Linked DNA regions of Homo sapiens: all the other regions are linked to region 1. Evidence: promoter capture Hi-C in human tissues and cell types (Jung and others, 2019). All regions are on one chromosome and are shown on one strand. The core of a region is centred on a gene start or on the middle of the fragment in contact, and the rest is flanking DNA. Distances in the headings are between cores, read along the strand shown. Region 1 holds the start of COMMD5 (COMM domain containing 5). Region 2 has its middle 26 kb from the start of ZNF252P-AS1. Region 3 has its middle 4.6 kb from the start of ZNF16.

The links. The method cuts DNA at HindIII sites, captures the fragments that hold promoters and counts their contacts. A contact is called where the count stands out against the background at its distance.
Region 2: a fragment that was not itself captured here is called in contact with the fragment with the promoter of COMMD5 in region 1 in 14 of the 25 tissues and cell types used here (H1 embryonic stem cells, IMR-90 fibroblasts, adrenal gland and 11 more).
Region 3: a contact is called between a fragment that was not itself captured here and the fragment with the promoter of COMMD5 in region 1, in 3 of the 25 tissues and cell types used here (dorsolateral prefrontal cortex, mesendoderm cells and thymus).

What each region holds. Positions count from the first base shown.
Region 1 is chr8:144,851,299-144,855,363 of GRCh38, reverse strand. COMMD5 (COMM domain containing 5) reads left to right here and starts at 2,316. Exons shown (of 2, transcript NM_014066.4): 1 at 2,316-2,525; 2 at 3,969-4,065. The coding sequence starts at 4,026. RefSeq lists enhancers at 1,696-1,795, 2,346-2,675, 2,253-3,101 and a silencer at 2,086-2,275. The HindIII fragment of the contact is 6,847 bases long and covers 1-4,065 here.
Region 2 is chr8:144,975,078-144,979,142 of GRCh38, reverse strand. It overlaps the pseudogene ZNF252P. Among named protein-coding and RNA genes, the nearest start is that of ZNF252P-AS1, 26 kb to the left of the region's middle. The HindIII fragment of the contact is 3,341 bases long and covers 548-3,888 here.
Region 3 is chr8:144,953,490-144,957,554 of GRCh38, reverse strand. No RefSeq gene overlaps it. Among named protein-coding and RNA genes, the nearest start is that of ZNF16, 4.6 kb to the right of the region's middle. The HindIII fragment of the contact is 6,539 bases long and covers 1-4,065 here.

The sequences.
Region 1 (4,065 bases), core at 1,067-3,566:
GCAACCTTTTATCTAAGCTTGAAATTGTTTCAAGCTAAATTAACTTACAAATGTTGATCATAGTAAGGAAGGAGACCACCACTTCTCCTACTGCCCTCCTCTCCCCCTGTCTTGCCTAGTTTATAAGACAGGAGAAATGGGAGAAAACAAAAAGTGAGAAAGAAACAGAAGATAAATAGCCAGATGACCTTGGTGCCATCACCTGGCCCTGGTGTTAATAATATCAACCCCTAACCTAAACTACTTGTGTTATCTGTAAATTCCAGACATTGTATAAGAAAGCATTGTAAAACTTTCTGTTCTGTTAGCTGATGCTTGTAGCCTCCAGTCATGTTCTCCATGCTTTCCCAGTCTATCATAATAACCCTTTCACGTGGACCCTTTAGGGTTGTAAGCCCTTAAAAGGGCCAGTAATTTCTTTTTCGAGGAGCTCAGCTCTTAAGACACAAGTCTGCCAAAGCTCCCAGCCAAATAAAACCCCTTCCTTCTTTAACCCAGTGTCTGAGAAGTTTTGTCTGTGGCTCATCCTGCTACAATAAGATGAGAGTTCTCCAGGCACTCCAGGCACTCTGGCCTTTGGGTGGGAACTGTCTCCAAAACTCACCCCCAGGTTCCTGGCTCTCCTCACTTCAGGAGGGGGTGGGTCTGCCACGTAACCACCGCCCAGACCTCACAAGTGATAGCACTTCACCTTTTTGCTTCAGATATTTTAAAGAGAAATAACACCTTACAGATGCAGTCTCTTTCTAAACTTCCCAGATCCATTCCCTTTAAACAATCCTCCCTCAGCATGGTTTTTAGACTTGATTTGTTTTGTCTTAGAAATGGAGTCTTGCCATGTTCCCCAGGCTGGTCTCAAATTCCTGAACTGAAGTGGTCCTCACTCTGCCTCTCAAATAGCTGGGACTATAGGTTGCCCTCACCTCCTGCTGTGAGGTCAGTTCCTAACAGGCCACTGACCTGTAGCGGTCCACAGCCTGAGGGTTGGGGACCCCTGCTATAGGTGCACACCACCACACCTGTTTTTTTTTTTAATTTTGTAAAAATGAAGCCTTGATATGTCGCCCAGGCTGGTCTTGAACTCCTAGCCTCAAGTGGTCCTCCCACCTAGTCCTCATAAAGTACTGGGATTGTAGGCATGAGCCACTGCACCCAGTCTCCACTCCTATTTATTATTGAACACTATTCCATTGTATGGCTGATGTGGTTTGCATCTGTGTCCCCGCCCAAACCTCATGCTGAAAGGTAATACCCAATGCTGGAGGTGGAGACTGGTGGGAAGTGATTGGATCGTGGGGGTGGCTTTTCATGAATGGTTTAGTACCATGCCCTTAAGTTATGGTCTCATGATAGAGTTCTCCTGAGATCTGGTTGTCCACCTCCGCCTCCCAAAGTGCTGGGATTACAGGCGTGAGCCACCGCACCCAACCTGTCATTTTTATTATAACCCTTCTAATGGTATGAAATGGCACCTCCCCGTGGCTTCCATTCGCATTTCTCTAATAGCCAACAATGCCGAAGGCTTCATGTACCCATTACCCACTTTGTATCTTCCTTGATGTCTACTCACATCTTCTGCCCATTTAATTAGGTTGTTTCCCTTTTCAGAGTTTTTTTTTTTTTTTTAAGTTTTATTGGGCTATAATTCACATACCATATAATTCACCCATTTTGTACAATTCAATGATTTTGGCATATTATTTTTTAACTATGGTAAAGTACATGTTAAATAAAATGGCTCGGCCATTGTTTCGGACCGAGCTCCTGCGCTAGGGCCCAACAGAGCAGCCCAAAGCGGAACCGAGTCACGCGCGCCGGACGCCACCCGACAGGAGGGGAAACGGGGCAGCTCTCAAAACCCTGGAGGCGCAGACCGTCCACACGGGACAGGGACGCCCGCTCGGCTCCGCTCCGCGCTGATCCTCAAGGTCTCGCGGTTTCCCCGCCGCCCACCCGGACGCCGACGAAAGCCAGCGAGCTCCTCAGCCTCAGGTGACTGGAATTCTGACCCCAGACCACGGGACGCGTTCTCCCGCTTTACCCTCACTCTGCGCGGGCGGGGAGGGAGACGCGGGCGCAGGCCGCAGTTTCTACCTCAGAAACGGAAACACAACACCGCCTTCTTTTTCTTTGGGGAAAGAAAAAAAAAAAACTGTCTAAGACGAGGTCTGGGACCCCGCCGGCGACCCCCGATTCCCCCGGGCGGGGAGGGGGCGGGACCTGGCGCGGCCTCGGCTCCGCCCCTCGGGCCAGCGGACCACAGTGGGGCGGTCATTGCTGCCTTCCTAGAGCGGCCCGGAAGTGGCTCTCAGGGCGCTTCCGGGGACCAGGCCCGCTTTTGGCTGCATCAGCCGGGGATTGCCGGCGCCAGGTGCTGGGGGCGACTCGGACAGCGGGAGCGTGGGGTGGAGTAGGATGGAGTCTCCCTCCCGAGCTGGGGGTGTGGGCCTAGGAAAGGCTGCTTCGCCGCTGTGTTCGGAGAGCTCTGGATACTGCGGGGCTTTTCCGCGGAGGAGCGCCCGCCGGTAGGTTGGCCCCGAACCGTGGGGGCGGCGACGGCCGAGTGCCAATTTGACTCTGTGCACCAAGGTCCCCGCGCCCCGGAACGGGCGACGCCGCGCCCCCATCAGAGCCGCGGGTACGGAGTCAGGGTGCGAACCCGGCCTTCCAAGCCGCGCGACCGGAAGCGGGCAGCTCGGAGGCCTTCCCGGATGGCTCTTTGGAGTGGGAAGGAGCTCCTGGTGCTGGCGGGACGGTGAAGGAGTTGGCAGTGGGTGGTCGTTGACTCCCAGGGAGAATGGGGCGCCGTGAAGCCCGTGGGGAGCTCCTGGGCTCCCCCAGCGCTGTGCAGAGTGGCCTGACAAGTGCCTCGAGGACAGGAGCTGTGCCCCGCTGAGCTCTGCTCCAGTACCTGGTGTGCTGAGGTGGGCACGTGCGTTTCCTCTGGCATAGCAGGTGCTTGTGCTGCTGCACTGCTCCTTCAGGTGCGTCGGAACCCTCTTTAGTTGCCGCACTTGCCTCTGTTGCCAGCCGTTGCTCAGCTCTTCCAGCCCGGGGGTTGGGGCTGTGGTGGAAACAGCTGGGACTTCTGAATAGACAGGTCTAGGCTTCAGTCCTTGACTTTGGCAGCTGTGTTTAGAGCTTTGATTTCTTTTTACTTTTCTTTTCTTCTTCCCTGCCTCCCCTCCCTCCCCCCTCCCTCCATTCGTTCGTTCCTTCCTTCCTTCCTCACAGCATCTCTGTTGTCCAGGCTGGAGTGCAGCGGCTCGATTTCGTCTCACTGCAGCCACGACTTCCTGGGCTCAAGGGATCCTCTGTCCTCTCAGCCTTCTGAGTAGCTGGGACTACAGACGTGCACCACCACGCCTGGCTAGTTTTTTAAATTTTTTGTAGAAACGGGGTCTTGCTATGATGCCCAGGTTGGTCTCCAACTCCTGGGCTCAAGCGATCCGCTGGCCTCACCTTCACAAAGTGCTGAGATTTCAGGCTTGAGCCACTGCACCTGGCCTAGAGCCTTATCTCCCTCTCTGTCAGGTGAGAATGGTAATTCTTCTTGCCCACTGTTGTGAAGGATTCAAGATTGAATAGTTAAATGGTCTCAGTGTGGTCTGTGGCGCCAGCTGCAGTGTCCCTGTGTTCCCCGGACCGTTCCCCTAGTTCATTCTTTCATCTATTAATTTACTTGGAGAACTTGTGCTGTTTCCTGGTCCTCCTCCCTGCCCCCTACTTCTCTGCCAATTCCTGCTTGTCCTTCATGCCTTAGATGTCACTTCCTCTGGGAGGCCTCCGCTCCTCCTGGGACTGACATGGACCCCTCTGCCACCTGCTTCCAGGGCCATCTCCGCAGCACTGACTGTCATTGGTAGTTCACACTGTCAGCATGCTGATGATGGGGACCATATCAACCCTCACTCGCTGGCCCAAAGGATGTGAGAGTCACTGGTCTTCTCTCCTCCACCCCACTCTAGGCATCTGCATCTGGGACCGACCTCCTGGGCTGGCTGATCAAAGAGGAAGCAGCAGCAATGTCTGCTGTGGGGGCTGCAACTCCATACCTGCATCATC
Region 2 (4,065 bases), core at 969-3,468, 120 kb before region 1:
GTGCTGCCCAAGCTATTTCCTGAGTAGGTTGCTGCTTTTTTCTGTTTTTCCTGATTTGCTTCTGTGAAACCAAGTTGTCTAGATCAAATAGTTTTTTTCATCATCTATTGCACTGATGTACACCTCATTTATTATGAGTCATTTATCATTTATTTTCAACAAATATTTGAGTATGCTATGTGTAAGCCATAAGAAGATACCTTGTTTACAAAGTATGCAGCAATGACATGAATAGTGGAGGCAGCCTCCAATTCCTCCCTCCTGGTAACTCTCCCCAAATCCTTTCTCAGATCTTGCCTTTCCTACTCCAGGAAAGGTCAGCCTGGTTGCAGATTTAAGCCTTTGACCTTGGGCATATTACCTTCCTTCTTCCTTCCCACACCAGTGTTCATTGCTTTACCAGCATGCTTCTCTTTTTCCTCTCCCCAATGGGGTCATATTTGTTGCTTTTTTTTTTATTTGCATTCTGAATATCAGTATTATCCTAGAAGATATTTGTTTGATACAAATATTTCTGTTTATTCTCTAATTCTTTCTTCCATAGTAAAATGCAAGCGATTCACTTTTTTTTTCTTTTTCATTCTTTCAGGCTGTGATTCTAGGATTGAAAAAGAGGAAATGATTCCAAAGCAGGACATTTCTGAAGAATTGGAATCCCAGAGAGCAAAATCAGAAGATCATGTAAGGAATATTTTTAAGGAAACTGAAGAGATGAGTAAAACTGAGGGAAAGTTAGAGAATTGCTGGAGAAAATATGCAGTAGAAGGAGTTAAGAACTCATTCTCCCAGAAGAGCAATTTCAGAGAAATTACCATGAGGTATGTGAAAACCCTCTCTAGAGAGAATGGCCAGAAGTTCAATGCTGTTGGAGAAAACTGCATTACAGACTCAAATCCTGCCAAACATCTTAGAGGGTCTAGAGAGGAGAGTCTCCATCCAAGTGTGTCAAGTGTAGAAAACTTGCAACAACATGAGGACCTCATTAACCTCCAGAGTTTCCAATTAGGAGAAAGAGCCTATCAGACAGATGTGTTAGTGAAAGTGCCCAGACAGAGCTCAGTTCTTAGTGAGAATCAGAGGATGAATAATCCAGAGAGATGGTTTGAGAGTACTGGGTGTGGAAAAACTTACAATCAGAACAGAGCTTTTAACCAGCACCAGAGATTTCATAGTGGAGAGAAGACCTATGAGCACAATGAATGTGGAAAAGCTTTCAGTTGGCCCTCTATCCTCAGTAAACATCAGAGAATCCACACTGGTAAGAAACTCTACACATGTGAGGATTGTGGCAAATCTTTCAGTGTTCACTCATACTTTATTCAGCATTGTAAAATTCACACTAGAGAAAAACCCTATGAGTGTATTAAATGTGGGAAAGCTTTTAGTACACATTCATCTTATGTTCAACATCTAAAAATTCATACAGGAGAGAAACATCATGAGTGTAATCAGTGTGGGAAAGCCTTTAGTCATAGCTCTAATCTAATTCATCATCAGAGAATTCATAGTGGAGAGAAACCTTACAAGTGCAAAGAATGTGGGAAAGCCTTCAACAGACAATCAAACCTTATTCAGCATCAGAGAATTCATTCTGGAGAGAAACCTTATGACTGTAAGGAGTGTGGCAAAGCCTTCAGTACACAATTATTTCTCATTCAGCATCAGAGAATTCATACAGGAGAAAAGCCCTATGAATGTAATGAATGTGCAAAATCCTTTAGCCTGAACCGAACTCTTACTGTCCATCAGAGAATTCACACTGGAGAGAAACCTTATAGGTGTAATGAATGTGGGAAATCCTTTAGTCAATGCTCACAAGTTATTCAACATAAGAGAATTCACACTGGAGAGAAACCTTATATCTGCAATGAGTGTGGAAAATCATTTGGTGCTCGTCTATCCCTTATCCAGCATCAGAGAATTCACACTGGAGAGAAACCTTATGGTTGTAGTGTGTGTGGGAAAACCTTTAGTCAAAAGGGACATCTTATTCAGCATCAGTGAATTCACACAGGAGAGAAACCCTATGAATGTAGTGAGTGTGGAAAAGCTTTCAGCCAGAGTTTTAATCTTATTCACCATCAAAGAACACACAATGGTGAGAAGTCCTATGAATGTAATGAATGTGATAAAGCCTTCAGTTTGCTTTCTTCCCTTGTTCAACATCAGAGAATACATAATGGAGACAAACCCTATGAGTGTCACAAATGTGGGAAGGCCTTTAGCCAGGGGTCACACCTTATTCAGCATCAGAGGAGTCACATTGGTGAGAAACCCTATGAGTGTAATGAGTGTGGGAAAACCTTTGGGCAGATATCCACCCTAATTAAGCATGAGAGAACACACAATGGAGAGAAGCCCTATGAGTGCAGTGACTGTGGGAAGGCCTTCAGCCAGAGTGCACACCTTATCCACCATCAAAGAATTCACACTGGAGAGAATCCCTATGAGTGCAGTGAATGTGGGAAGGCCTTCAATGTTTGTTCCTCTCTCATTCAGCATCACAGAATTCATACTGGTGAGAAACCTTATGAATGTAGTGACTGTGGCAAGGCGTTCAGTCAGCATTCACAATTTATCCAACATCAGAGAATTCACACTGGAGAGAAACCCTACATGTGCAATGAGTGTGAGAAATCCTTCAGTGCATGCTTATCCCTTATCCAACACAAGAGAATTCACACTGGAGAGAAACCCTATGTATGTGCCAAATGTGGAAAATCCTTCTGACAAAGCTCTCACCTTATTCAACATCAGAGAATTCACAGTGGGGAGCAACCTCATACGTGTAATCGATGTGAAAAAACCTTCAGTTAGAGAATAACTCTTAGTAGTCATGAGAAAATCCATACAATTCACATTAGAGAGCAAGTCTATGAATGTAGTAAGTGTGGGGAACTCTAGCGCACAGTCATCTTTCATTCAACATTGTACAGTTCACAGTGGAGAGTAACTGATTAGTCTATAAATTCTTCACAGTTATACATTATATGAGAGTCATACTCGTGAGAAATGAGTCACTTTATGGTTTTCCTTTTGGAGATTCAGCTCTTAAGGGATTTCACTCTCCCAGTGAGCTGCTAACTAAAGGCAGGCTGCTGAAGTATATAGCAGCAATCCCACAATAGCACACCTTGCTTCAGATTCAGAGGATGAGCCCCCTTCTTGAGCCCTGTAGATATGTGAAACTTAATTATTTAGATGCATTTCATGGCACCAGACCCTAAGGTACAGTTAGGTATTTCACTGGAGACCACTTACTTTGCTTTGCTTTGCTTTTTTTTTTTTTTTTTTTTGTATGATTTATTTCAACTTCAAAGAAAGTAGTTGAGATCCTTGCACTTCCAAGTGTGATGGAACCAGGCTAGGGTTTTCTTTGTTTGTTTGGGCCTCTTCAAAACGTTTTTATTCTGTTATAAGGAATATGATACCTTAAGCTTCAATTCACAGGGAAGAGAAACATGATTATAAGCAAAAGTTTGTCAAGGAATAAGGTGAGTCTTTGTGTAGATTAAAATAGTTGAGACCTTGCTAAAAAGTCAGATAACACTGTAATCCACCTCCAGGTTTCCAAGAGTTAAGACGCTGCCAGCAAGGAGCTTGCAGTCTTGTAGCTGGCCCAATATATCCAACTAATTCAAAATGGGAAATTGTACATTTTACTTAAACAGGATTTGGTAGATGGGTCTTCTAGATATGTTGTCATGAAGAAAAATCAGGAAAATGTCCAAGGGTGGGAGCCTGTGGCTTATGGCTTCACTTACCCATCACAGATAGCTATGTTACACTGCAAGAACAGAGTTCATGGCTTTTCCTGAGGTGGCTGGAAACCTTAATCTCCTGAAGTTAAGTCAAAACTTAAATGTCAATTCACCCAGCTCTCTTGCCTGCAGGCTGATCCAGGGACTTAGAGCTTGTTACCCAGTTACAACTTCTTCTAGAGAAGAACTTTTAAGAAGGAAGCAAAAAGAAATTCAGTTTCCCCCAAGGATCTCTTCTTTGAGGTTCCATCAAGAGATGACAAAAGGAGGCTGGGCGCGGTGTCTCACACCTGTAATCCCAGCA
Region 3 (4,065 bases), core at 781-3,280, 100 kb before region 1:
TCCTTCCCAGATCTCCTTGGCTTAGCTCCTGAAGACTGACACTGCCTGATTGCCTGGGAAGCCTACAGGACCATCACAGACACTCTAGGTAACTCTCACAGTGGAGGGTAAGTCCGTCCCCTTCTTAATCAATACAGAGGCTACCCAGTCCACATTACCTTCTTTTCAAGGGCCTGTTTCCCTTGCCTCCATAACTGCTGTGGGTATTGACGGCCAGGCTTCTAAATCTCTTAAAACTCCCCAACTCTGGTGCCAACTTAGACAATACTCTTTTAAGCAATCCTTTTTAGTTATCTCCACCTGCCCAGTTCCCTTATTAGGCCGAGACACTTTAACTAAATTATCTGCTTCCCTGACTGTTCCTGGACTACAGCTACATCTCATTGCCGCCCTTCTTCCCAATCCAAAGCCTCCTTTGTGTCCTCCTCTTGTATCCCCCCACCTTAACCCACAAGTATAAGATATCTCTACTCCCTCCTTGGTGACCAATCATGCACCTCTTACCATCTCATTAAAACCTAATCACCCTTACCCCACTCAATGCCAATATCCTATCCCACACCATGCTTTGAAAGGATTAAAGCCTGTTATCACTCGCCTGCTACAGCATGGCCTTTTAAAGCCTATAAACTCCTCTTACAATTCCATTTTGCCTGTCCTAAAACCAGACAAGCCTTATAAGTTAGTTCAGGATCTATGCCTTATCAACCAAATTGTTTTGTCTATCCACCTGCAGTGCCCAACCCATACACTCTTTTGTCCTCAATACCTTCCTCCACAACTCACTATTCCATTCTTGATCTTAAAGATGTTTTTTTCACTATTCCCCTGCACCCCTCATCCAAGCCTCTCTTTGCTTTCACCTGGACTGACCCTGACACCCATCATCGGTCCCAGCAGCTTACCTGGGCTGTGCTGCTGCAAGGTTTCAGGGACAGCCCTCATTACTTCAGCCAAGCTCTTTCTCACGATTTACTTTCTTTCCACCCCTCCACTTCTCACCTTATTCAATATATTGATGACCTTCTTCTTTGTAGCCCCTCCTGTGAATCTTCTCAACAAGACACACTTCTGCTCCTTCAGCATTTATTCTCCAATGGATATCAGGTATCCCCCTCCAAAGCTCAAATTTCTTCTCCATCCGTTACCTACCTTGGCATAATTCTTCATAAAAACACACGTGCTCTCCCTGCCGATCATGTCCCACTAATCTCTCAAACCCCTACCCCTTCTACAAAACAACAACTCTTTTCCTTCCTGGGCATGTTTAGATACTTTCACCTTTGGATACCTGGTTTTGCCATCCTAACAAGACCATTCTATAAACTCACAAAAGGAAACCTAGCTGACCCCATAGATCCTAAATCCTTTCCCCACTCCTCTTTCCATTCCTTGAAGACAGCTTTAGAGACTGCCCCCACTCTAGCTCTCCCTGACTCATCCCAACCCTTTTCATTACACACAGCCGAAGTGCAGGGCTGTGCAGTCAGAATTCTTACACAAGGACCAGGATCGCGTCCTGTAGCCTTTTTGTCCAAACAACTTGACCTTACTGTTTTAAGCTGGCCATTATGTCTCTGTGCAGTGGCTGCTGCCACCCGAATACTTTTAGAGGCCCTTAAAATCACAAACTATGCTCAACTCACTCTCTACATTTCTCATAACTTCCAAAATCTATTTTCTTCCTCATACCTGATGCATATACTTTCTGCTCCCTGGCTCCTTCAGCTGTACTCACTCTTTGTTAAGTCCCACAATTACCATTGTTTCTGGCCCGGACTTCAATCCGGCCTCCCACATTATTCCTGATACCACACCTGACCCCCACAACTGTATCTCTCTGATCCACTTGACATTCACCCCATTTCCCCATATTTCCTTCTTTCCTGTTCCTCACCCTGATCACACTTGATTTATTGATGGCAGTTCCACCAGGCCTAATCACCACACACCAGCAAAGGCAGGCTATGCTATAGTACAAGCCACTAGCCCACCTCTTAGAACCTCTCATTTCCTTTCCATCGTGGAAATCTATCCTCAAGGAAATAACTTCTCAGTGTTCCATCTGCTATTCTACTACTCCTCAGGGATTATTCAGGCCCCCTCCCTTCCCTACACATCAAGCTTGAGGATTTGCCCCCATCCAGGACTGGCAAATTAGCTTTACTCAACATGCCCTGAGTCAGATAACTAAAATACCTCTTAGTCTAGGTAGACAGTTTCACTGGATAGGTAGAGGCCTTTCCTACACAGTCTGAGCAGGCCACCGCAGTCATTTCTTCCCTTCTGTCAGACATAATTCCTCAGTTTAGCCTTCCCACCTCTATACAGTCTGATAACAGACAAGCCTTTATTACTCAAATCAGCCAAGCAGTTTTTCAGGCTCTTAGTATTCAGTGAAACCTTTATATCCCTTATGGTCCTCCATCTTCAAGAAAAGTAGAACTGACTAAAGGTCTTTTAAAAACACACCTCACCAAGCTCAGCCACCAACTTAAAAAGGACTGGACAACACTTTTACCACTTTCCCTTCTCAGAAGTCAGACCTGTCCTCAGAATGCTACAAGGTACAGCCCATTTGAGCTCCTGTAGAGATGCTCCTTTTTATTAGGCCCCGGTCTCATTCCAGACAGCAGACCAACTTAGACTGTGCCCCAAAAAAAACTTGTCATCCCTACTATCTTCTATCTAGTCATACTCCTATTCACCATTCTCAACTACTCATACATGCCCTCCTCTTGTTTACACAGCTGGTTTACACTGTTTCTGCAAGCCATCACAGCTGATATCTCCTGGCGCTATCCCCAAACTGCCACTCTAAACTCTTGAAGTAAATAAATAATCTTTGCTAGCAGGACTATGCTGAATCTCCTTAGGCACTCTCTAATTAGATGTCCTGGGTCCTCCCAATTCTTAGACCTTTTATACCTGTTTTTCTCCTTCTCTTATTCCATTTACTTTTTCAATTCATATAAAACCATATCCAGGCCATCACCAATAATTCTACATGATAAATGTTTCTTCTAATAACCCCACAATATCATCCCTTACCACAAAATCTTCCTTCAGCTTAATCTCTCCCATTCTAGGTTCCCACGCTGCCCCTAATCCCGCTCAAAGCAGCCCTGAAAAACATCACCCATTATCTCTCTATACCACCCCCAAAAATTTTCACCATCCCAACACTTTACCACTATTTCACTTTATTTTTCTTATTAATATAAGAAGACCAGAATGTCAGGCCTCTGAGCCCAAGCTAAGCTATCATATCCCCTGTGACCTGCACGTACACATCCAGATGGCTGGTTCCTGCCTTAACTGATGAGATTCCACCACAAAAGAAGTGAAAATGGCCTGTTCCTGCCTTAACTGATGACATTGTCTTGTGAAATTCCTTCTCCTGGCTCATCCTGGCTCAAAAGCTCCCCCACTGAGTACCTTGTGACCCCCACTCCTGCCCACCAGAGAACAACCCCCTTTGACTGTAATTTTCTTTTACCTACCCAAATCTTATAAAATGGCCCCACCCCTATCTCCCTTCACTGACTCTCATTTCAGACTCAGCCCACCTGCACCCAGGTGAAATAATGCTCACACAAAACCTGTTTGGTGGTCTCTTCACATGGATGCACATGAAACAAACTACACTATAAGGCCATAGTCACCAGAACAGCATGGTACTGCTATAAAAATAGGCACATAGACCAATGGAACAGAATAGAGAACCCAGAAATAAACTCAAATACTTACAGCCGACTAACCTTCAACAAAGCATACAAAAACATAAAGTGGGGAAAGAACACCCTATTCAACAAATAGCCCTGGGATAGTTGGCAAGCCACATGTAGGAGAATAATCCTGGATCCTCATCTTTCACGTTATAAAAATCAACTCAAGATGGATCAAGGACTTAAATCTATGACCTGAAAATATAAAAATTCTACAAGATAACATCAGAAAAACCCTTCTAGACATTGGCCTAGGCGAAGATTTCATGACCAAGAACCCAAAAGCAAATGCAACAAAAACAAAGATAAATAGGTGGGACTTAACTAAAGACCTTTT